7 separate regions of the Homo sapiens genome follow, and regions 2, 3, 4, 5, 6 and 7 are each linked to region 1. Evidence: promoter capture Hi-C in 16 types of primary human blood cells and fetal thymus (Javierre and others, 2016). All regions are on one chromosome and are shown on one strand. The core of a region is centred on a gene start or on the middle of the fragment in contact, and the rest is flanking DNA. Distances in the headings are between cores, read along the strand shown.

What was found. The method cuts DNA at HindIII sites, captures the fragments that hold promoters and counts their contacts. A CHiCAGO score of 5 or more calls a contact.
Region 2: the fragment with the promoter of GFPT1 here is called in contact with the fragment with the promoter of SNRNP27 in region 1 in 1 of 17 cell types (total CD8 T cells); the score reaches 7.7 in total CD8 T cells.
Region 3: a fragment that was not itself captured here is called in contact with the fragment with the promoter of SNRNP27 in region 1 in 1 of 17 cell types (neutrophils); the score reaches 5.1 in neutrophils.
Region 4: a fragment that was not itself captured here is called in contact with the fragment with the promoter of SNRNP27 in region 1 in 1 of 17 cell types (neutrophils); the score reaches 6.1 in neutrophils.
Region 5: a fragment that was not itself captured here is called in contact with the fragment with the promoter of SNRNP27 in region 1 in 2 of 17 cell types (naive CD8 T cells and total CD8 T cells); the score reaches 5.3 in naive CD8 T cells.
Region 6: a fragment that was not itself captured here is called in contact with the fragment with the promoter of SNRNP27 in region 1 in 9 of 17 cell types (total CD8 T cells, naive CD8 T cells, fetal thymus and 6 more); the score reaches 9.5 in total CD8 T cells.
Region 7: a contact is called between a fragment that was not itself captured here and the fragment with the promoter of SNRNP27 in region 1, in 1 of 17 cell types (total CD8 T cells). The highest score is 5.8, in total CD8 T cells.

The regions. Positions count from the first base shown.
Region 1 is chr2:69,892,365-69,895,631 of GRCh38, forward strand. It overlaps SNRNP27 (small nuclear ribonucleoprotein U4/U6.U5 subunit 27), which reads left to right and starts at 1,592. Exons shown (of 6, transcript NM_006857.3): 1 at 1,592-1,654; 2 at 2,730-2,850. The coding sequence starts at 1,621. RefSeq lists enhancers at 1,217-2,152, 1,895-1,954, 2,153-3,087. The HindIII fragment of the contact is 14,817 bases long and covers 1-3,267 here.
Region 2 is chr2:69,385,591-69,388,857 of GRCh38, forward strand. GFPT1 (glutamine--fructose-6-phosphate transaminase 1) reads right to left here and starts at 1,637. Exons shown (of 20, transcript NM_001244710.2): 1 at 1,475-1,637. The coding sequence starts at 1,481. RefSeq lists silencers at 1,217-1,886, 1,947-2,056 and an enhancer at 1,429-1,988. The HindIII fragment of the contact is 6,543 bases long and covers 1-3,267 here.
Region 3 is chr2:70,325,116-70,328,382 of GRCh38, forward strand. No RefSeq gene overlaps it. Among named protein-coding and RNA genes, the nearest start is that of FAM136A, 25 kb to the left of the region's middle. The HindIII fragment of the contact is 7,913 bases long and covers 1-3,267 here.
Region 4 is chr2:70,277,241-70,280,507 of GRCh38, forward strand. It overlaps PCYOX1 (prenylcysteine oxidase 1), which reads left to right. Exons shown (of 6, transcript NM_016297.4): 6 at 1-3,267. The coding sequence ends at 152. Among named protein-coding and RNA genes, the nearest start is that of SNRPG, 15 kb to the right of the region's middle. The HindIII fragment of the contact is 6,133 bases long and covers 1-3,267 here.
Region 5 is chr2:69,531,319-69,534,585 of GRCh38, forward strand. AAK1 (AP2 associated kinase 1) reads right to left here. Exons shown (of 22, transcript NM_014911.5): 6 at 723-844. Among named protein-coding and RNA genes, the nearest start is that of SNORA36C, 13 kb to the left of the region's middle. The HindIII fragment of the contact is 1,626 bases long and covers 716-2,341 here.
Region 6 is chr2:70,215,361-70,218,627 of GRCh38, forward strand. It overlaps TIA1 (TIA1 cytotoxic granule associated RNA binding protein), which reads right to left. Exons shown (of 13, transcript NM_022173.4): 8 at 1,526-1,634; 9 at 1,044-1,139; 10 at 848-932; 11 at 11-134. Among named protein-coding and RNA genes, the nearest start is that of C2orf42, 26 kb to the left of the region's middle. The HindIII fragment of the contact is 1,587 bases long and covers 997-2,583 here.
Region 7 is chr2:70,193,135-70,196,401 of GRCh38, forward strand. No RefSeq gene overlaps it. Among named protein-coding and RNA genes, the nearest start is that of C2orf42, 3.7 kb to the left of the region's middle. The HindIII fragment of the contact is 4,295 bases long and covers 1-3,267 here.

The DNA of each region.
Region 1 (3,267 bases), core at 342-2,841:
TGTTTCTCCAATGATGTCCCTAAATCTTCTTCCCTGGGGTCTGCACCTCCCTTGAACCTCCCCATTCTACACCTAGTGCATGCTTTGCCAGGGTAATTCCAAAGGCATCTGGGGGTTGGGGCTGTTGGTAGAAATCCTAGATGTCATGGCTGGATCTTTCCTGGAAGTTTGGGTTGGGACAGGTATTAAACAGGCCACTCTGAATGTATAAATCTAATTAAAAATTTATGTGATTGGTGGGCATTTTTTCCAACCTAATAAAGTCCCTTTCCATCCCCCAGCTCTTTGTATTTTAAAAGCCAGGTCACTAGACTTGATAATTCTAGAGAGAGCTGACTGAAAAGAGTTGGTTTGATTAGAAACAGAGGTTCAACACTTTTACACTGTTGGTGGGAATGTAAATTAGCTCAACCATTGTGGAAGACAATGTGGTGTTTCCTCAAAGACCTAAAACCAGAAATACCATTTGACCCAGCAATCCCATTACTGGGTATATACCCAAAGGAATATAAATAATTTTATTACGAAGATACTTGCACGCATATGTTCACTGCAGTACTATTCACAATAGCGAAGACATAGAATCAACCCAAATGCCCATCAATGATAGACTGGATTAAAAAAATGTGGTACGTATACACCATGGAATACTACACAGCCATAAAAAGGAACGAGATAATGTCCTTTGCAGGGACATGGATGGAACTAGAAGCCATTATCTTCAGCAAACTAACACAGAAACAGAAAACCAAACATTGCATGTTCTCACTTATAAGTAGGAGCTGAACAATGAGAACACATGGGCACAGGGAGAGGAACAACACACACTGGGGCCTGTAGGGGGAGGAGCTGGGGAGAGGGAGAGCATTGGGAAGAATAGCTTAATAGATGCAAGGCTTAATGGGTTGATAGGTGTAGCGAACCACCATGGCACACATTTACCTATGTAACAAAACTGCACATCCTGCAAATGTACCCTGGAACAAAATAAAATAAAATAAGAAATAGAGGTTTGAGTCTTTCCTGGTAAGCATATTTATGCTCTACCACAGACGGTTCAGCCTTGGGGCAAGACAGTCTTTCTCCTAATTTTTGTAGTTTTGAACATTCTAAAGTTTTTGTTGTTGTTGTTGTTGTTTTCCCTGAGGACAGAGGCAACTTTGGGGAAGTACTTTGTCGGGTAGGATGGAATCTGGGGCCTTTAGTTTTCCTTCCAAGAGCCCATAGGAGGTTTTGGGTGCCTTCTCAATGCTGGCATGAGAAAATATAAAGCAGATGGACAGTGAACTTTGGTATATTCACTCCTTATGAATGTTATGTGGAAAAGTGGAAGAACATAAGCTGTTTGTCTATGCTATGTTTACAATTGGTTTGCTCTATTTTGTGCATGTGGACAAAAATGGGGGAAAAATGAAAGCTGTGTTAGGATAATGGGTATACGGCTGAATTTTCCAGGAATTTCTATAATAACACCAAATCGCATGTTTTAATGCCCACCGTGAACAAAGAAGACCGGAACCCTCGCAACTCGTTTTGACGTTTTCTGGTCGGCGGTAAAAGCTCGGTTCCCGGCCCTCCCGGAAGTTGTTGCACAGTTGTTTCCGGGAAGCGGGACTCCAAATGGGTCGCAGTCGCAGCCGCTCTCCACGGAGGGGTGAGTCCTGTAGCAATTCGGAGGATATGGGGCTCTGTTGGAGGCCTGTCCCTTTTGTTTTATTTTGTTTTGTTTTTGGTAGCCGCGTAGCAGAGAGGCGGGCCCTTTTCCCAGGCGGAGAGCGAGGGGTGGATAAAGGAACGTAGACCTGGGCCCTGCCCTCTTCAGCCCGCCCTCTCCGGTTTGAAGGCAGTTGTTTGTCTCTGAATTAGTTTCATTAAGTCTTTGTCACCTTCATACAATAACTTTTATTACACTGTGGCCGGTGGGTTTAGAATTAGACCTCAGTTCCTTTGCTGAATTTCTGGGCGACGGTGGGCAAGTCACTACTCAGCCTTTCTGAATCGAATTCCCAGAATGAGTCATTGAGGGTAGTATTGCCAACTTTTAAAAACTGATGTGAGAATTAATGTCACATCCCATAACATACAGTATGTGATTCTGCCTGGTTCTTAAATACTTAATAAATGTTAGATTCCTGCCCAGGTCATTACAGGGAAATCGATATTAAGAATTTTGAGTCCTGGGAGCTCACTTCGTAATGTTTTCTGGCTACCAGCCCCATAAATGAGGCAGCGCGACGTAAAGAACCCTGGACTTCCATTAGGAGATCTAACTTAGACCCTCGGTTCTGCCCCTGATTCGTTTTTTTTTTAAATCAATTTATTTATTTTTAATGAGACAGAGTCTCGCTCTGTCGCCCGCCCAGGCTGGAGTGCAGTGGCCGATCTCAGCTCACTGCAACCTCCACCTCCTGGGTTCAAGCGATTCTCATGCCTCAGCCTTCCGAGTAGCTGGGATTACCCGTCCGTGCCACCACGCCTGGCTAATTTTTGTATTTTTATTAGAGACGGGGTTTCGCCGCGTTGGCCAGGCTGGTCTCGAACTCCTGACCTTGTGATCCGCCCGCCAGCCTCACAAAGTGCTGGGATTACAGGCGTGAGCCACCGCTCCCAGCCTCTTTTTACCTTTTTAATGTGACTAGTAATGGTTTGCATTATTTTTCTACTGGACGGCGCAGCTCTAGATATTTGAGGTAATTATCAGTTCTGCAATTTGTGTGCGTTTGCATTAGAACGTAGGCGTTCCCGGTCCACATCCCGGGAGAGAGAACGCAGGCGCCGAGAAAGGTCCAGGTCTCGGGAGAGAGATCGGAGAAGGAGCCGCTCGCGATCCCCGCACCGAAGACGCTCCCGGTAAGGGCAGAAAATAAGCCAAGAGTTTTATTTACCGAAAGTCCCTAAGAAACTGGTCGCAGCTCTTAACTTTGTTTTCATCGCTTATAAGGGGATTTACGGTTTCCTGAAATGGAGGAAACTTAATCCAACCTTATTCTAAAGCTAACATTCACCTTGGTTAAATGGTGCTAATAGTACTCTACATCACAAAGTTGTCTTGAAAGAGTAAGTAAGAAATAATGCATGCAAACCCCAGAGCATGGTGCTTGGCAAGAAAAAGAAATAAGTATTTTATATTTTTGTTTCTTTCTTCCGTTCCTTTCCTTTCCTTTTCTTTTCCTTTTCCTTTCTTTTCCTCTTTTTTGAGACGGAGTCTCGCTCTGTCACCCAGGCTGGAGTGCAGCGGCGCAATCTGCTCACTGCAACCTCCGCCTC
Region 2 (3,267 bases), core at 387-2,886, 510 kb before region 1:
GATGAAATGACCTGCAACCAGAATGTTGAGTACTTGATGAGGCACACCCCTCATCATTCAGGAACAGTTAACTACCAAATGAAGCACACTGGAGATTGACCAGTTTGCAAATTCACTACTTCACAGCTCCAAACTAAATGCAAAACCATTCTACTAAGTAGACACTGCAAAAGTCTGATTCTGAAGTCAGCTCTACTCTAATAATTTCAGTAAGCTATTTATAGGTGTTTCTGTTTTTATGTGGGTTTTTTTTTAATCTACTCTAAATTTAAACCTGCTCCTCATTTTCAGAAGCTGAAATGAGCATAAAGTTAAATACAGGAAATATATACACTAACGAGTACAATCCACCTCCTGTTCAGTTCCTTCGTGTAAAAGGCTGCAAATAAGAAGTCTCCCAGAGAGTTTTCAATTCTCTTACAATGGTACTTCCCTTTAAAAAAAAAAAAAAAAAGTGTACTTTCTTCCAGGGATAAAGTCGGTTGTAAATTTCAATAAGAAAGGTAAGAATACAATTATTTTTACTGGCAATAGCCAAATTAACACCAATTTTAGAAGATATCAGTCATGTCAGACACGATTCTCAAAGTCTCTTTCACTAACACTTAGGTCATAATAAACGACTCTCAAAACATGGAATAAAAGGGCCTAACCTTAATTTTTTAAGGCTCTAGGAAAGATATTTGCTCAACTTTCCATAGCTAGTATTTTTAATGGATGCACATGCAAGGGATAAATGATATTTTTCATAGTTGGTATTCTAAAGGGGTATACATCCAAGGTATAACTGATATTTTTCAGAGCTGGCATTTTTAATGGGTGCACACGCAAATGATAAATTATGTATAACCTATCGCCACAGACATTTGAAGGCCTCTTCCACCAGAGGATCAGGTCTAAGCCCATGAACCAAGTTATTGATTAGCAATGGTTTCTGTTGAGACAAGGGATGGCAGGAAGTATCACGTTTAATGGCACTACCGTGGCTCTAGCTAGGGTCTGTTTTCTATTGGGCCTCCCCAGAAACAAGTAAAATATTTTTTTAAAGATTTTTAGAAAAATGCAAGGTAAGTTCAAGAGACCTCGCCCGAGGTTCCACAGGTTTCCTCACTCACCTGGTGGGCCCTTTTGAAGGCAACCCCCTCCACACCTCAATTCCCTCAGCTCTCTCCTCCTTTTTCAATAAAGGCGTTTCTCTCCCCTTTCGGTTCCTTCTCCGCGCCAAGGCGCCCGCTAGCCCCCGGCAAAGGGGGCCCGCCTTCCTCTCAGGTGCCTTTCTCCCGGCCGCCACCCCCTCTCCCGCCCGTGGATGCCGGCCCCCGCCCCCGCAGCCACCACTGGGCGCCCCTTGCCCATCACCCAGACTTCGCACCCTCCACACTCCCGCTTCCGCCCGTCGCCTTGGGCCTTAGCGGCACCCGCACCGCACCCCAGCGCCACCCGGCAACACGCCCCCCGCTCCCGGCCCCCTTACCACACATGATGCCGGAGACACGGCCCGCGAGGCCAGGGGCGAGTGGCTGGCGGGATCGGGGGTGCACACACGAGCTTCGGTGGGCAATCTGCGGGCTCGGGGGCCGGGGTGGCGCCGACACGACTCCCTCGGGGATGCGACGGCCAAGGCAACGACAGCCTTCTCCGCCTCCCGGGCTCCGCCAGCAACCGCCGCCGGGCCCCGCCCCTCGGCGCGCAGCGCGCCGCCGCCCGTAGGCTCCATTGAACCGCTCACGCGCCGCTCACGCGCAAGTCCCGCCTCCCAGCGCTGCCCCGCCCCCCGAGCCCACGCAGGCGCTGGACTGCTGGCGGCGGCGACGTGGCAGTGGCTCGTGGCCGCGTCCGCCTGGAGTTCCTGGAGACGCCCGCCCCGGGGCGAGCCGCGGGAGGGACCGAGCCGAGAGGGAGGGAGAAACTCAGCACCTGGCAGGGAATGACGGAAAGAGAAGGATGGAATTGTTAGCAAAGCAATAGCCCGGGTGCGTGCCCCGTGCAGCCCCAGGCCCCAGGCGCCAGCACTGCACGAAGCGAGGAAAGAGGAGGAAAAAAGCAGGAAGTATGAAAAGGGAATCCTGGGGAACATAAGGCTGAAAAAAATTGCAAAGAATTAGGTTGAGGTGGGAGGAGAGAGATAACAAAATTCTTGACTGTAAAGCCCCAAAGGTCAGCCTCTCTGGTAATAAGCAATTCAATTCCTTGTGTAATATGCTTGGCCCCTAAAAGCCCTCCGCATCCGTTGCCTCCATAACCCTCAGTTTATTGTGGAGGGGTAGAGGAGGAATGTAAGGCTCAACTATCCGACTATGAGCCTGGACGTAAGAAACTGCTGGCCCACCTCCTCCCATGACCCACCTGAGACGGCTAGGAATTCCCTAGCTTTAACAGCCGCGCGTTTGACTTACGAACGATTCATTCTATGAATTAATGCGCCATGTCTGACAAGAGAGACTTGATTAGAGAGGGATGATGTTTCTGAGAATTTATTACCTGGGCATTTGCTTTAAACAGCCTTAAATGGTATCTTTAGTCAAATGTGGAGTAATCAGAACTCTATAATGGCTCTAGAGTAGAGTAGTATCAAAAACGTACATGGCACACAGAATTCCTGGAGTGCTGACTGCTGTTCATGTGTCTGGTCTTAGCCTGCTGACTGCTGTTCATGTGTCTGGTCTTAGCCGTCCTTCCAGCCCTATACACTCCCAACAGGCTCAACAGGTAGTTCCTCAACTGGGCCAAGATTCTCAAATCTTTTGCACACTTTGGTTACTCTGCATAGAATCCCCACCACGTCTCTGTTTAGATGCTACCTCTTCAGGAAAGCCTTTTTTATCCCCCCTAGACAGACTTGGAGACATGCATTAACCTCTTACTCTTTGAGCTACTCACTGTAAAGAAATATTCTTTGATATTTTATGATTTTCTGTATTTTCCCACTGGGCTGTAAGTTTCTTGAAGCTAGAACTAGATTTTACATACCCAACACTTTTAGACCACAGCACAAAGTAAAAGATCAAATTTATTTTGGAATGAGTGAAAAAAAGTCCTATTTTCTTAGCGGAATTAACCTTCTATGGCTGGTTATATGATTAAGTGAGCATAAGGCTTTCAGTTCTTCTTACGGGGAAAAGTGCCTTTTTTCACTTGCCTCAGAGAAGCTGAAAAATGTCACATTTAACTAAGCAGAGTATTTCTCACCTAAAAGCCCTTTTGATATTTCAATCCCTTAAACAGGTCCCTGGATCACCCAGAGCAAAGTTTAAAAAAAAAAAAAAC
Region 3 (3,267 bases), core at 228-2,727, 430 kb after region 1:
ATCCTGGTAAGGTGCAGATTCTGGTTCAGAAGGTCTGGAGATGCTGTGTTTCTAACAAGCTCCCAGGTGGAGCCCAGGCTGCTGGTGCATGGACCACAGATTAAGTATTGTAATCCTTTTCTTCCCAGCACCAGTTGTGGTGTACTTTTATTTTTTATTTATTTATTTTTTTGAGATGGAGTTTCCCTTTTGTTGCCCGGGCTGGAGTGCAATGGTGCGATCTCGGCTCACTGCAACCTCTGCCTCCTGGGTTCAAGCGATTCTTCTGCCTCAGCCTCTCGAGTAGCTGGGATTACAGGCATGCACCACCATGCCCAGCTGATTTATATATATATATATATATATATATATATATATATTTTAGATGGAGTCTTGCTCTGTCGCCAGGCTGGATTGCAGTGTTATGATCTCGGCTCACTGTAACCTCTGCCTCCTGGGTTCAAGCAATTCTCCTGCCTCAGACTCCTGAGTAGCTGGGACTACAGGCGCACACCACCATGCCCAGCTAATTTTTGTATTTTTAGTAGAGACAGGGTTTCACCATGTTGGCCAGGATGGTCTCGATCTCTTGACTTAGTGATCTGCCTGCCTTGGCTGCCCAAACTGCTGGGATTACAGGTGTGAGCCACCACGCCCGGCTGATTTTATATTTTTAGTAAAGACGGGGTTTCTCCATGTTGTCAGGCTGGTCTTGAACTCCTGACCTCAGGTGATCTACCCGCCTTGGCCTCCCAAAGTGCTGGGATTACAGGCGTGAGCCACCACGCCCGGCCGTACTTTTACCTTTTTTATGGGATTATTTGACTAACATCTGTGTCCTCCACTAGATTGCAATAAGCATCATGAAGGCAGGGACCATGTCTATTTTGCTCACTGTTGTATTTAGTACTCAGCGTAGGGCCTGGTACATAGTTGGTGTTCAAGACATATTTGTTGAATAAATAAATGAGAAAAATGACGTCATTATCTACAGATATGGTAAGAAGGCATTTGATACAAATGTGTTTTGGCGAAATTACCTAATAAATTAAGGATGGAAAGTTTTCCTTGAATATGATAAAGAATATCTACCTTAAATATTAAAATGTATTATAAAGTATAGTATGGCAATAGACATAGAGAAAAATATTTACAAATGAATAACGAGCTCACAATAGATTCAAATATATATATAGGGATTTAATAAAAGATAAAGATGGCTTCAAATCACCAAGGAAAAAGAGGAGTCACTCAATCAACATATTAGAACAACTGGCTGGCCATTTGGGGAAAAAGTGATCTAAGTCTCATGTCAAAATAAACTCCAGATTTGAAATTTAGAAACATAACAAAAAAGTGCTAGGGGAAACACAGGCAAAACTGTTCTTATAATCTTGAGGCAGGATGATTCTAAGTAGGACATAAAGGAGAGAAATAAAACAGAAAAATATGGATATGCAAAAATTAAAAAACCCTTGTTCTTCACAAACTGGGAAAACATTTGTAACATATGTGTCTGATAAAAGAATGATAACAAAGTGTTTCTACCAATTAAAGAAAAAGGCAAAAAACTCAATAGAAAAGTGGGCAATTTAGCCGGGCAAGGTGGCTCACACCTGTAATCCCAGCACTTTGGGAGGCTGAGGCGGGCGGATCACCAGGTCAAGAGATCAAGACCATCCTGGCTAACATGGTGAAACCCCGTCTCTACTAAAAATACAAAAAAAAAAAAAAAAAAAAAAATTAGCTGGGCGTGCTGGCATGAGCCTGAAGTCCCAGCTACTTGAGAGGCCAAGGCAGGAGAATTGCTTGAACCTGAAGGTGGAGGTTGCAGGGTTGCAGTGAACAGAGATCGAGCCACTGCACTCCAGCCTGGTGACAGAGCAAGACTCAGTCTCAAAGAAAAAAAAAAAAAAAAGAGAAGTGGGCAATTCACCAAAGGAAAAAGAAATAGGAATGGCTAATAAGCATATCGTTGGAGAAGGCTTTGTCCTCCTAAAAAGATATGTTGAAGTCCCAACCCCTAGTACTTCAGACTGTGATCTTATTTGGAAATAGGGCCTGTACACTTGGATTAATTTATATTCTAGTTAAACTGAGGTCATAGAGTGGTCTCTAATCCATTGTGACTGGGTGTCCTTATAGAGTGGGGACATTTGGACAGAGGCAGACAGGCACAGAGGGAAGACACGTGAAGAGGCACAGAGAGAAGACAGCCCTGCAAGCCAAGGGACAGCTGAGGCTACCTGCAGCCAGGAGAGAGGCGGGAGCAGATCCTTCCCTACCATCTTCAGAGGTGAGACCATCAATATCTGTTGTTTTAGGCCACGCAGCTTGTCACACTTTGTTAGAGCAGCCTGAGGAAACTAATGCATGTATGAAATCATATTCAGTTTCACTAAACATTTAAGAAATCAAAAAGAAAACAAATCACGGTTCTTCCTATCACACAGTTCAACTCGTTGGCTAGCAGGGCAAAACCTTTTGCAGGCGAGGATGAGAGGAAAAAGGACCGTTTACACGGTGGTGATGTAAATGGTACGACTAGCCTGTAGAGCAAGGTCATTTAGCAGTGAATATCATAAGCCACAAATACATGAAAACTCCTTGACCCAACAATTCATCTTGAAGGAGGGAGATAAGCAGACATGTTTGGAAAGATATGTGAACTAGGATGTATAGTACAGCATTTATAATATTCCACGTTTGGAAGCAACTAAACGTGTAAGAACAGGAAACAGATTAAATAACTAACAAAAGGACCGTGCAATGAAGTACCCCACAGACACAAAGAACCACACTGTAGGAGAATTTTTTTTGGTAAGAAAGAAGTATGTTACATTTGATTGAGTGAAAAAACTCAAGTAACAAAATAGTTTATGCATCATGATTTATTTTTAAAATAAGAAACAAATGTTATATATACATGCCTAGAAGAAAATCTGAAGAATCACAGCACAACTGTTAAGGGTCATCACATAGGAGTGATTGGATTAGAAATGACTATAATTTTCTTCTGAATGTTTACAGGGGTTTCTAAGTTTTCTTTAATAAATGTGTCTTCTTGCTCACAGCTGTAATCCCAGCACTTTGGGAGGCCGAGGTGGTCGGATCATTTGAGGTCAGGAGTTTGACACCAGCCTGGCCAACATGGTGAAACCCCGTCTCTATTAAAAATACAAAAATTAGTCCGGGCACGGTGGCTCACGCCTGTAATCCCACCACTTTGGGAGGCCGAGGCGGGCGGATCACGAGGTCAGGAGATGGAGACCATCCTGGCTAACACGG
Region 4 (3,267 bases), core at 246-2,745, 380 kb after region 1:
ACCTCAATGGCATAGAGTGTGCAGCAAGTGCCATGGAGATGAGTGCCATTGCAGCCCACAACGCTGCACTCCTTGCCTATCACCGCTGGAACGGGCACACAGACATGATTGATCAGGATGGCTTATATGAGAAACTTAAAACTGAACTATGAAGTGACACACTCCTTTTTCCCCTCCTAGTTCCAAATGACTATCAGTGGCAAAAAAGAACAAAATCTGAGCAGAGATGATTTTGAACCAGATATTTTGCCATTATCATTGTTTAATAAAAGTAATCCCTGCTGGTCATAGGAAAACACACGGTTCTAATTAAGTGTGAAGGTATAGCTATTGCACTTATGCCATCTCCAAAATTTCTTAAGTATTCTTTCACTATCCATTAGGAGTTTTTCTTAAACTTGTCTGATAATAAGAATCACCTGGAGTTAGGAGGTGGTGGTTGCAGTGAGCCAATCTCACCATTGCACTTCAGCCTGAGCAACACGAGCAAAACTCCGTCTCAAAAGTAAATAAAAATAATCACCTGGAGTTTGTTAAACCATATGGATTCTCAAGCTCCTCTCTTGAAGATTCTGATTCAGTAGGTCTGGGAGTGGCGCGCTGGATTTTGATCAAAATTGTAGAGCATTTTAAGGTGAGTACCTGAGGGAGAACTTAAAGACATCTTAGTTGGGGAGTAGTCCTTTTGAATTTTACAGCTAGATATAATCTTCAGTCAGATAAAATTTATGGGAGCTGGTGTCTTATGCCTGACTCTTAGTAATTTCATACCGGTTTGAAGTACGTGTGCCCATGCCTAAAGCCTTGACTTTCAGAATGTTGTCTTTTGATTCTTCTGTCTTGATTTGATTAGGGGTGAAATTTAGAAGTCTTAGTAATGTAACTTGAAGATGTTAAACAAAAATCTCAAGTAAAATGAAAAGCAAATATGGGCTACTGAATTAAGAAACTGGCATTCTAGTATTAAATCCTCACTTCAGGAGCTTTTAAAAATACTGAGACCCCCCCATAACCAGAGATTCAGATTCAAAGACTGAGGATAGGACCTTAGCATTGTAGCTATTTAAAGTTTCTAATGTGCACCCAGGGTTGGGAATCACCAATGTGGGTGTGAAAATGCCTACAAAGGGTTTTAGTGCCTTAGAAGTCCTAAGAAGCCCAATCTGTATCAAAGCAGATCCATTTTGCAAGGATCTTTCTTTTAGAACTTTCTCAGTTCTCTTAGTAAGAACTTTAGAAGTAATCTTGATAATAAGCACAGACAGCCTAACAGCAGAGGCAACTTAAATAACTCCTGAGCAGTTGGCACTAGAACAGAATACTTGGAATGACACCAAAGTTAACCAAGTCCAGCATATGTCCAAAGAGTTAAGTGTTTCATTTACTGTAGCATTCTGGGTGAGAAATTGGTTGCTGAAATCTTAAGACAGTGGTCTCAACCTTGGCTGCACATTGGAATCACCTGTAGGGTTTTAAAGCATCCAAATGGTAATTAACAGGCAGCAAAACTTCAGAACTAGTTCTGCATCTACTGTGCAAAGATCATGATTAACTGTCAAGACACTGGTAGAACAGAACAAGCAAAAGATTAAGAGTTCAAAAGTAAATGCAACCAATTTAACATGTAGTGTTATTAAAAAATTACAAAGGCCTAGACCAGCCTGGGCAACATGGTGAAACCCCATCTCTACAAAAAATTTTTAAAAAGTTGGCCAGGCATGGTAATGCGCGCCTGTGGTCCCAGCTGCTCGGGAGGCTGAGGTGGGAGGATCACTTGAGCCTTGGAGGTCAAGGCTGCAGTGAATCATGATCATGCCACTGTACTCCAGCCTGGGCAACAGAGACCATCTTAAAAAAAAAAAATCCTTCCATTGAATAGAAACTTCAAAGTCCTTCATCAGATCATGGCATTAGCTACTTTAGCAAAATAGTGTAAACTTTGGTTCTGAGTAAAAATGACTTCTTCCCTACCACAGTTGTGAATGTTAATATGCTGATAAAACTGCCAAGATATATTTGATAGGTAGGGGATTAAACTCATGGTTTGTCAAAAGAGTGTTTTTTTCTAGTTTTATTCTTAACAGATATGTTGAGGTATTCATATTTGTTTCCTTTTGTGGTTTTAATGAAGACAATTTGTAAAGTAATACTGTTATGTATATGCTAAATGTTGGTAAATACTAATTAATTTCCATCATTTGTAGACTTGTTTTGCAATGGGATATATTTTTACTTATAATACCAATTTAGGCTGGGCGCAGTGGCTCACGCCTGTAATCCCAGCACTTTGGGAGGCCAAGGCAAACGGATCACGAGGTCAGGAGATCAAGACCATCCTGGCCAACATGGTGAAACCCCATCTCTACTGAATACACAAAAATTGGCTGGACATGGTGGCGCATGTCTGTAATCCCAGCTACTGTAATCTCAGCTACTTGGGAGGCTGAGGCAGGAGAATTGCCTCAACCGGGAGGCGGAGGTTGCAGTGAGCCAAGATCGCACCACTGCACTCCAGCCTGGCAACAGAGCGAGACTCTGTCTCAGAAAAAAAAAACAAAAACCAGTTTAGGCTGGGTATGGTGGCTCACCAGCACTTTGGGAGGCTGAGGCAGGTGGATCTCTTGAGGTCGGGAGTTTGAGACCAGCCTGGCCAACATGGTGAAACCCTGTCTTTACTAAAAATACAAAAATTAGCCAGGCATGGTGGCGTGTGCCAGTAATCCCAGCTACTTGGGAGGCTGAGGCGCGAGAATCGCTTGAACCCTGGAGATGGAGGTTGCAGTGAGCAGAGATCGCACCACTGCACTCCAGCCTGGGCAAGAGTGAGACTGTGTCTCAAAAGGAAAAAAAAAAAATTAAAAATGTTGCTGGTATTACATCAAACCTACTCTGGATAAATTTTCCAGTAGGGCATCTGAAATTGCTTTGGCAAAAGCAAAACAGGTTATCAATACACCAAGGACATCAAGTAGTTTTAATGCAACTACAGTGTTGAGTGCTTTTTTACTGGGAGAAAAATCCTAGCAGAACCTGCTACTCTGGGCGCATTAGGTAGTTTTATGCAACTATAGTATTAAGAGTTTTATTGGAAGAAAAAACACTGTCAGAGCTTACTGCTCCAGACCTTTTTTTTTAATAGAAGAGACTGGTAAAAATGATGCAGGGGCTGAATGAAAGCCAGCTCTGCTCCAGTGGCTCTCTGAGTTGAGCATGCATCAGTTACCTTAAGGGCTTGTTAAAACATCGCTAGGCTCCACCCTGTTTATT
Region 5 (3,267 bases), core at 279-2,778, 360 kb before region 1:
TAGGCATCCCTCAGGGCCTTGGGTCGATCAGGTTCTTCTTGCCCCGGGCATGGTTGTCTGGGGTGACGCATGAAAGGACAGAGAAGATCAGGATGTAGGTGTGCAGGCTAGACTGTTGACTTATTAGTAGTAATAGCGAGTGCTGTTGCCTGTAAAAAATCCAACATTGTGGACATGAGGAGAAAATGGGTCAGGCTCTTATTGGAGTCACAAATCTAAAGAAGCTTTTTATCATGAAAGTCTGTGATTCAGTATCTGCAGAGACTTTAATAACCTACTCACCATTATTTCCACTTAGATCGCCTTATGAGCAGGAAGAAAGGAGCAATTTAGGGTTCAGTAAAAAGCACATCTGTTTGACTGATAATGTCATGGTTGTTGTGATCATACTTAAAAACATGCTAGTACTTTTACGGTGTGTGCACCTCTCAGCTTTTTATAGGCTCTGTGACATCATAAATCAAAACATCTATGTACAATGACCACAGGACCACTGATAAAGTGCTCTAAGAGTCCTTCCTTTTACTCTGATGTATGCCTGTAAACCCCCTCCTCATTCTTCACTTAAAGTCAAACAACCCAACTGTAAACATGATGCTCTGAGATGAAGGACAACTGACTATCACCATTCTCTCCCCACCCTGACCTTCTCATCCATAAGCTGAAGGTAAAGTTGCTCATCTGATTGTGGACAAAACTCCATGAAAGGAGAAAAAGCTTACTTCTTAATCTCATCTTCTACTGCATTGACTCCCTCAGTTTGTGGATTCTGGAATTTGTTGGTGGCGCTTCCAAAGTCACACAGGACATAGTGGCCTCGGTCATGCAAGAGGATGTTTTCAACCTGAAAAACATTCCCCAACCACCCATTCCAAGATATCATTTAGTAATGCACGTGAAAATTTGGTTTCACAGTCACATAAATAAACGTTTTATTTCTGGCAGTCTCATTAATGTGCACAGGGAAGTTATTCCTCTCCAAGTATCTCAACAGGGGTCATCCCAAGTGGAACACAGGAGATGCAGAGTAAGAGGGAAAAGTGGGTGGAGAGGGAAAAAAGAGGAAACTCCACGGTGGGGGATGCAAGAGTGCCATTTTTGTAAATTTCAGCCACATTTCTCACCTCTGCAGAAACCATCCTCATACTTTCAAGCCTCTGACCTGTGCCTTTGCTCTTGCTCTTCTTTTAGGCCAGGATGCCCTCCACAACCCCACCTCCTTAGCCAACTATCAAAATCTCATTTCAAACCCCAGTTCAAATGCCATGTCCTTTTTGAAACTTTCAGGCTCCCACTCAGATAAAATGTCACTCTTTCCCTATTGTCCTTCAGTATTTCATTCTCTCATGATGTGAATTACTTCACTTGGACCTTATAAGTACCTATATAAATGTCTTTACTACACTAGGTTAGGATATTCAGAATTAATATTGCTTATGTTTCAGTTACTTCTCAATGTGATAAAATGTCTGGGGATAAATGGGCAGTTTTCCTGTTAATGTATTGCCCTAATTTTTTAAATAAATGAATTCTTTGGGCAGTGAGTTAGGAGTTCTAGGCAGCAGGGAGCTTATAAAGCCCCAAATCTAGAGAAATCCCTGGTATCAAAGGACTCTACAAATGAAATGACAACTCCAAAATAGTGGGCACTATGTACTCAAGGTGTACTGATTTTGGGTCTAGGTGAACTGAGCTGACTAGTATGCCGGAGGACAGACCTGGCTATGTGTGGGCAGTAAAATGGCAGCCAAAAAATCTTGTTAGGCCATTAAGACTGTAGTCTCCATTGTCTTTTGCCTTCAGCCTTCCAAAGACTGATCACCTTTGGAAAACAAAGGCAAGAGTAGACTATAAAATAGTCTACTCTGAAAGATAAGCTCCTTAAAGATAAGCATCTTCTTATAATCATATTCTTGGTCTTCTCTACCTAGTGCCTAACACAATGCTTGGTATAAAAAATGTATGTTGAATGGAATAAACCAAAAAACACTGTGTAGGTGTGTGTATGTGTGTGCAAACCTGGTGTGTCAGGCGCAAGATAGGAGCCACCAAATATCCAGGCCGTACTACTGTACTACTACTGATTCTTTTAAAAACAACTGGTCAATTATAATAGTCTCTAATTTCTATACTTGTTTCTATACTTTCTTTTAATTCTTCTAAGAATTACATTAAGTATATTTTATAGTCTGTATCTGCCAATTCCAATATTTGAAGTCTCTGCTGCCAACTGATTCTGCAGTTTATTGTTTCTTACTCCTACTAAACCTTGCTTATGGTGGTGTTGTGAGGAGCTTTTTGTTTTTGTTAACTTACATTCCTTGGAACTTAATCTGTAAAAAGCTTGTAAGATCTGGGTTTAAAGTCTATTGTTCTTCCAGAGAGGATATACTGGTGTAGCTGGGGGCACTACTACCCTGGAATCACTTTAATCTATAATTTTGACCTTGGAATTTCCAGCCACATAGGTAGTTTGAACTACAGCCATCAACCTGCACAGGTATGTTCTATGATGAACAATTCTTAAGCATAGGGTTATGAAAGATTAGGAGAGATTCATTCCTTTGAGATAAGGCTGAGGCACGCAAATATTTCCATCATCTATGTCTTTTTTATAAAGCTCACCAGTTTAATCTATTTACACAAAGTGACACAGTCAAGCTTCCTGAGCATATACACACTTTAGGAATTTAAAATAATTCCAACAAAACAACGCTAATGTTTTCAATCTAATTTAGAGGTTATAAAAATAACAGCCATCATTTTCTGAGCTTTATTATTGCCAGTACTACTGTACTCAGCATTTTACATGGATTATCCCACTACATCCTCATAATCCCAATATGATTATTATCCTTCTCTCACAGATGGAGAAAATGAGGCTCAGAGTGATTAAGTCACTTGCTAAATGTCACACAGCCAATAGTTGGTACAGCTGGGAAGTGAACCTAAACAACCTCACTCTAGAAAGGATAGGCAATTATATTCCTGCTACAGGAAGCAGGTTAGAAGCAGAGCAATTACTCAAGGCCCCCATCCTTACTTCCAACTATAGTAGGGGAGACAATACTTGTCTAATGCATTGGGTGCAAGCTTAAGGACAGGACTTTCTTGGTGCTTTATGTTCAGAAATGCCCCCACAATAGAAATCTAGTGAATAAGGAATGAAGTGTCTAAACACTAGCCAGGCTGATTTGTTCGATGTCTCCTAAGCATTCCATACACAACCTAATTTGTCCTTTTATTCAATTGCTCCTTTTATTCAAC
Region 6 (3,267 bases), core at 540-3,039, 320 kb after region 1:
ACCCTCTCACCTGTTGCACGGGATTTATCATATCAAGAGTTTCTTTGCCCCAATAGCATTTCACAACATGACCTTCAATGGTAGTACCATTAACAGAAACAATTGCATGTGCTGCACTTTCATGGGAATTGAACCTATTGAAAACAATATTAAGAATCACCAATACAAATTCTTTTAAATATTTATGAATAAAACCTATTTTTAAAAATCAAGGTGAGTCTGAGGTAAAACAGTTTGCGTAACATGGCATATTTTCTTTGCTATTTTTTTCAAAGATCTTGTAGTTCTGGGGCAACTTGTGTTAACAAAGAATGTGTGTTTCACTGGCCTTGTGTTAGGGAGGGAGCTATAAAATCACAGAGGCAAATACGCTGGATGCTAGAGAAATTTCAATTTTTTTTTTTTGAGATGGTGTCTGGCTCTGTTGCCCATGCTGGAGTGCAGTGATTGTGATCTTGGCTCACTGCAACCTCCACCTCCTGGGTTCAAGTGATTCTCCTGCCTCAGCCTCCCGAGTAGCTGTGATTACAGGCATGCACCGCCATGCCGGCTAATTTTTATATTTTTGTATTTTTAGTAGAGACGGGGTTTCACAATGTTGGCCAGGCTGGTCTCAAACTCATGACGGTGATCCACCCGTCTCGGCCTCCCAAAGTGCTGGGAATACAGGCGTGAGCCACCGCACCCGGCCAAAATTTCAACTTTTTTATAACCAAGGTAAATTTTTAAGAAAACGAGGTAAATGTTCAAAAAATATTTTGGAGGAAAAAGTTTTTTATTTTTATTTATTTTCTGGTTTTCCAGTTACATTACCAAGAAAAATGTTTTTTTAAAAAACCATCCCTACCGAACAAATGAATATCCTTTATCTGGAAAGACTCGAATTTCCATTATTTGTCCAAATGGTGAAAAAGTCTGACGCATTAGTTGTTCTGTTAGACAAAAAACCAAAACAAACAAATCACACTAAGTTATATAAAAATCCTACAAATATTAAGCTTTGCACTTTAAAAATTAATGCCACACAGGGAAGGCTCCCATACCTGTTAGCCCAGAAGTAACACCTCCACAGTATACAGTACAGTTGCTTGGACTAGACTGATTTACAACCTCATCATATGATAGCTGTTTGGTATTTGCTGGTGAGAGAAAAGGTTTATGTCTTTAATTCATTAAATAAAATGTGCAGAAAGAGAAAAGTAGCATTCACTACACTACTGTAAAGGTAACATTAACCTTGATCAAAATGCTTATATTACACATATTATACTTCAGTTCAGAATTAAACCTCCCCCACGAATGTCTAAAAAATTACCCAGTATTTTCTATTTAATAGGAGACTTGACATTAGAAATAATATTATTTATAATTACAAAAATGAAAACTAAGTACATTTTTGAATAGTAGTCTTGATTTGCTTCTCATCTATTTCTGCAATAAGTCTCCGGGAACAGCTCTAACATTTAAAATCTAGCGTATTTTTCTCCAAAATTCCACATTTCCTTTTCTTCTCCAATACACCTACACTCATATGTACTCTTTGGAGCGGGAGGCTTTCGGGTTGCCCAGTTAGTTCTGATTTGTCTTCCACCAAGCCACTGGCCACCCATCTGTTGAATGGCGTTTTCAGCATCCTGTTCCGTACAACATTAGAAACAATAAAGAAGTCACTATTAGTTGATGTTAAACAACTCTTAGCAGTAGAGAAAACTTGGTGCTTTTCACAAATGTTTAAGTGAAAATGCTCTATGAAATACACAACATATGATAGCTTTCCTAAAATGCAATGGTGCTTTTTATATTTTTAAATTTTATTTTATTTATTTTTTCAGATAGAGTCTCGCTCTGTCACCCAGGATGGAGTGCAGTGGTGTGATCTTGGGTCACTGCAACCTCCGCCAACTGGGTTCAAGCGATTCTCCTGCCTCAGCCTCCTGAGTAGCGGGGATTACAGGCATCTGCCACCATGCCTGGCTAATTTTTGTATTTGTAGTAGAGATGGGGTTTCGCCATATTGGCCAGGCTGGTCTCGAACTTCTTCTTCTTTTTTTTTTCTTTTTTAAGTCTCGCTCTGTGGCCCAGGCTGGAGTGTAATGGCGTGATCTCGGCTCACTGCAAGCTCTGCCTCCCAGGTTCACGCCATTCTCCTGCCTCAGCCTCCCAAGTAGCTGGGACTACGGGCACCTGCCACCACGCCTGGCTCATTTTTTGTATTTTTAGTAGAGACACGGTTTCGCCATGTTAGCCAGGATGGTCTCGATCTCCTGACCTCGTGATCCTCCCAACTCGGCCTCTCAAAGTGCTGGGATTACAGGCGTGAGCCACTGTGCCCGGCCCTGGTCTCAAACTTCTGACCTCAAGTGATCTGTCCACCTCAGCTTCCCAAAGTGCTAGGATTACAGGCATGAGCCACCATGCTCAACCCAATGGTGCTTTTGTATTGTTTTTCTCTTATTTGAATATTAAATTTTGGGAACATTAATCATCTGAAAAGGTCGTGAGCCCGACAGCCCTAATGAGGTAGATATCATAAAGTTCATGCAACTCAGACTACTATAGAAGAAAATCTTAAACAATCTAACAAGCTTGTTAACAATATTTGGTTTCTCATTCATCCAACAAATAAATATTGAACAGTTATGTTCCAGGCATGCGGTTAAGAGCTAGGGACACACTGGTAAACAAGCATACATGGTCTCTTACATTCTTTTGTGGGGAACAAATAAAGCAATTACATATTGTGGTAAGACCTATGACAGAAACAAAAGGCTGAGATAGAGAATATGGGCACAAGGATCTACTACAGACAGGATGAATAAGAAAGGTCTCTCTGAAATGACATTTAAACTAAGCCTGACAGCAATAGGAGATAGCCAAGTCAAAACAATGAGGAAGAAAGCCCCAGTAGAGAGAAAAGTATTGCAAAGTGTGTTAAGGCACAAAAGTTTGGTATGCATCTGAAAGCAGCATGTGAAAGACTAGTTTCAGTGGAATCCAGCGAGCAAAAAAGAATGTCAGAGAATGAAACTGAAAGATTTTAAGCAAGGAATCATCATGACCTATGTTTTAAGAAGGCCATTCTTTTTTTCGAGATGGAGTCTTGCTCTGTCTCCCAGGCTGGAGTGCAGTGGCGCGTTCTTGGCTCACTGCAAGCTCCGCCTCCTGGGTTCCTGCCATTCTCCTGTACAGGTGCCAGCCACCAAGCCCGGCTAATTTTTTTTTGTATTTTTTAGTAGAGACAGGGTTTCTTTTTTAGTAGAGACAGGG
Region 7 (3,267 bases), core at 520-3,019, 300 kb after region 1:
TCACCGCATCTGGCCTTTTTCCTTTTTCCTTTTTTTTTTTTTGAGACAGAGTCTCGCTCTGTTGCCCAGGCTGGAGTGCAGTGGCGCAATCTCGGCTCACTGCAAGCTCCACCTCCCGGGTTCACACCATTCTCCTGCCTCAGCCTCCCCAGTAGCTGGGATTACAGGCACCCGCCACCGCACCCGGCTAATTTTTGTATTTTTAGTAGAGACAGGGTTTCACCATTTTGGCCAGGCTGGTCTTGAGCTCCTGACCTCATGATCCACCCACCCTGGCCTCCCAAAGTGCTGGCATTACAGGTGTGAGCCACTGCACCCGGCTCCGCCCCCCCCCTTTTTTTTTTTTTTTTTAATTTTTGAGACAGGGTCTTACTCTGCTGCCCAGGCTGGAGTGCAGTGGCGTGATCTGCAGTCTCAATTTCTCAAGCTCAATTGATCCTCCCTCCTAAGCCTCCTGGGTAGCTGAGACTACAGGAGCTCGCCACCATGCCCAGCTAATTTTTGTATTTTTTGTAGAGATTGGGGGTGGTGGTGGGTCTCTCTGTGTTGCTCAGGCAGTGGTCTTGAACTGGCCCCAGGCAATCCTCCCACCTCAGCCTCCCAAAGTTGCTGGGATTACAGGCATGAGACACCATGCTCGGCTAAAGCCATTTTCAATGAAAAGAATTTGGCCAGATATACAGTGGCTCACACCTGTAATCCCAGCACTTTGGGAGGCCGAGGTGGGCGGATCACCTAGGTCAGGAGTTTGAGACCAGCCTGGTCAACGTGGCAAAACTCCCTCTCTACTAAAAATACAAAAATTAGTGGGGTGTGGTGGTGGGCGCCTGTGATCCCAGCTACCTGGGAAGCTGAGGCAGGAGGATCGCTTGAACCTGGGAGGCAGAGGTTGCAGTGAGCTGAGATGGCACCACTGCACTCCTGCCTGGACAACAGAGTAAGACTCCATCTCAAAAAAAAAAAAAAAAAAAAAAAGGGCGGGCACGGTGGCTCACGCCTGTAATCCCAGCACTTTTGGAGGCCGAGGCGGGTGGATCATGAGGTCAGGAGATCGAGACCATCCTGGCTAACACGGTGAAACCCCGTCTCTACTAAAAATACAAAAAAATTAGCCAGTCGTGGTGGCGGGCGCCTGTAGTCCCAGCTATTGGGGAGGCTGAGGCAGAAGAATCGCCTGAACCCGGGAGGCAGAGGTTGCAGTGAGCCAAGATCGCACCACTGCACTCCAGCCTGGGTGACAGAGTGAGACTTCGTCTCAAAAAAAAAAAAAAGAAAAAAAAAGAATTTATATGCTATTTGCACATTAGAGCAGATATTCATAGTTCTTTGATTTTTGCCAACTGACAATAATTATTTTTTAACTTCTCTCATCCTTCTAGCCCCTGTTATCATTTCTTTTTCTTTTTCTTTTTCTTTTTTTTTTTTGAGACGGAGTTTCGCTCATTGTTGCCCAGGCTGGAGTGCAATGGCGCGATCTCAGCTCACCTTAAACTCTGCCTCCCAGGTTCAAGCGATTCTCCTACCTCAGCCTCCCGAATAGCTGGGATTACAGGCATGCGCCACCACGCCCGGCTAATTTTGTATTTTTAGTAGAGATGGGGTTTCTCCATGTTGGTCAGGCTGTCCTCAAACTCCTGACCTCTGGGATTCACCCGAATCAACCTCCCAAAGAGCTGGGATTACAGGTGTGAGACACCGCTCCTGGTGCCCTGTTGTCATTTTAATCCAATATTTTTTTCTTTTAAAAAATTTTTTGGAGTATTGGTACATGCCTGTAATCTCAATTATTTGGGAAGCTGATGCAGGAGTATTGCTTGAGCTCAGAAGTTTAAGAGTTTGAGGCCAGCCTGGGCAACATAGCAAGACCCCTTCTCTTAAAAATAAAGTATTGATACATAATAGATGTACATATTTTGGGGGTACATGTAATAATTTAATAAATTCATATAATCTGTAAAGATCAAATCAGTGTAACTGGGATATCCATCACCCTAAATATTTGTCTTTATGTTAGAAACATTGAATTATTCTCTTCTATTTTGAAATGTACAACAGATTATTATTGTAAGCTATAGTCACCCTATGATCTATCAAACATGATGTCTTATTTCTTCTACTAAACTGTATACTTGTACTCATTAATCAACCTTTCTTCATCCCTTCCTGACCCCCTTAAATCACTATTTTTTTTTTTTTAGATGGAGTTTCGCTCTTTTGCCCAGGCTGGAGTGAAGTGGTGCAATCTCGGCTCACTGCAACCTCCGCCCCCCAGGTTCAAGCGGTTCTCCTGCCTCAGCCTCCCAAGTAGCAGGGATTATAGGCACCCACAACCACACCTGGCTAATTTTTTTTTTTTTTTTTTTTTTTTTTTGAGAGGGAGTCTTGCTCTGTCACCCAGGCTGGAGTGCAGTGGTGCGATCTTGGCTCACTACAACCTCCGCCTCCCGGGTTCAACTGATTTTCCTGTCTCAGACTCCCGAGTAGCTGGGACTCTAGTTGCCTGCCACCACGCCCGGCCAATTTTTGTATTTTTAGTAGAGACAGGTTTCACCATATTGGCCAGGCTGGTCTCGAACTCCTGACCTTGTGATCCTCCCACCTTGGCCTCCCAAAGTGCTGGGATTACAGGCGTGAGCCACTGTGTCTGGCTGTACCCTTCATATTTTGTACCCTCTTCTTGTACTGTTCCGAATTACAGATTCTCTTCTTCAGCTGTATCTAATTTGTTTAGTCAGCCTATTGAATTTTTAATTTAAGCTATTGTATTTTTAATTTCTAGAGGTTCTATTAGTTTTTCAAAAATCTGCCTAATCATTTGACAGTCATTTCTTCCTTGTTCATATTTGTATTACATCTTTTATTTTTAAAGACATGAAATGTAGTTATTACAAATTCAATATGTGATTTTCTAAAGTTCTTGTAGGTCCAGTTCTGCTGTTCTTTGTTTCTGTTGGATCTCTTGTAGAGTCTTGTTTCCTCATGTGTTTCATAGGTTTTTTGTTTGTTTGTTTTTTGAGACGGAGTTTTACTCTCACCCAGGCTGGAGTGCAGTGGTGCAATCTCGTCTCACTGCAACCGCTGCCTCCTAGGTTCAAGTGATTCTCCTGCCTCAGCCTCCCGAGTAGCTGGGATTACAGGCATGCACCACTACATCTGGCTAATTTTTGTATTTTTAGTAGAGATGGAGTTTCACCATGTTGGCCAGGCTGGTCTCGATCTCCTGACCTCAAGTGACCTGCCCACCTCTCAGAGTGCTGGGATTACTGG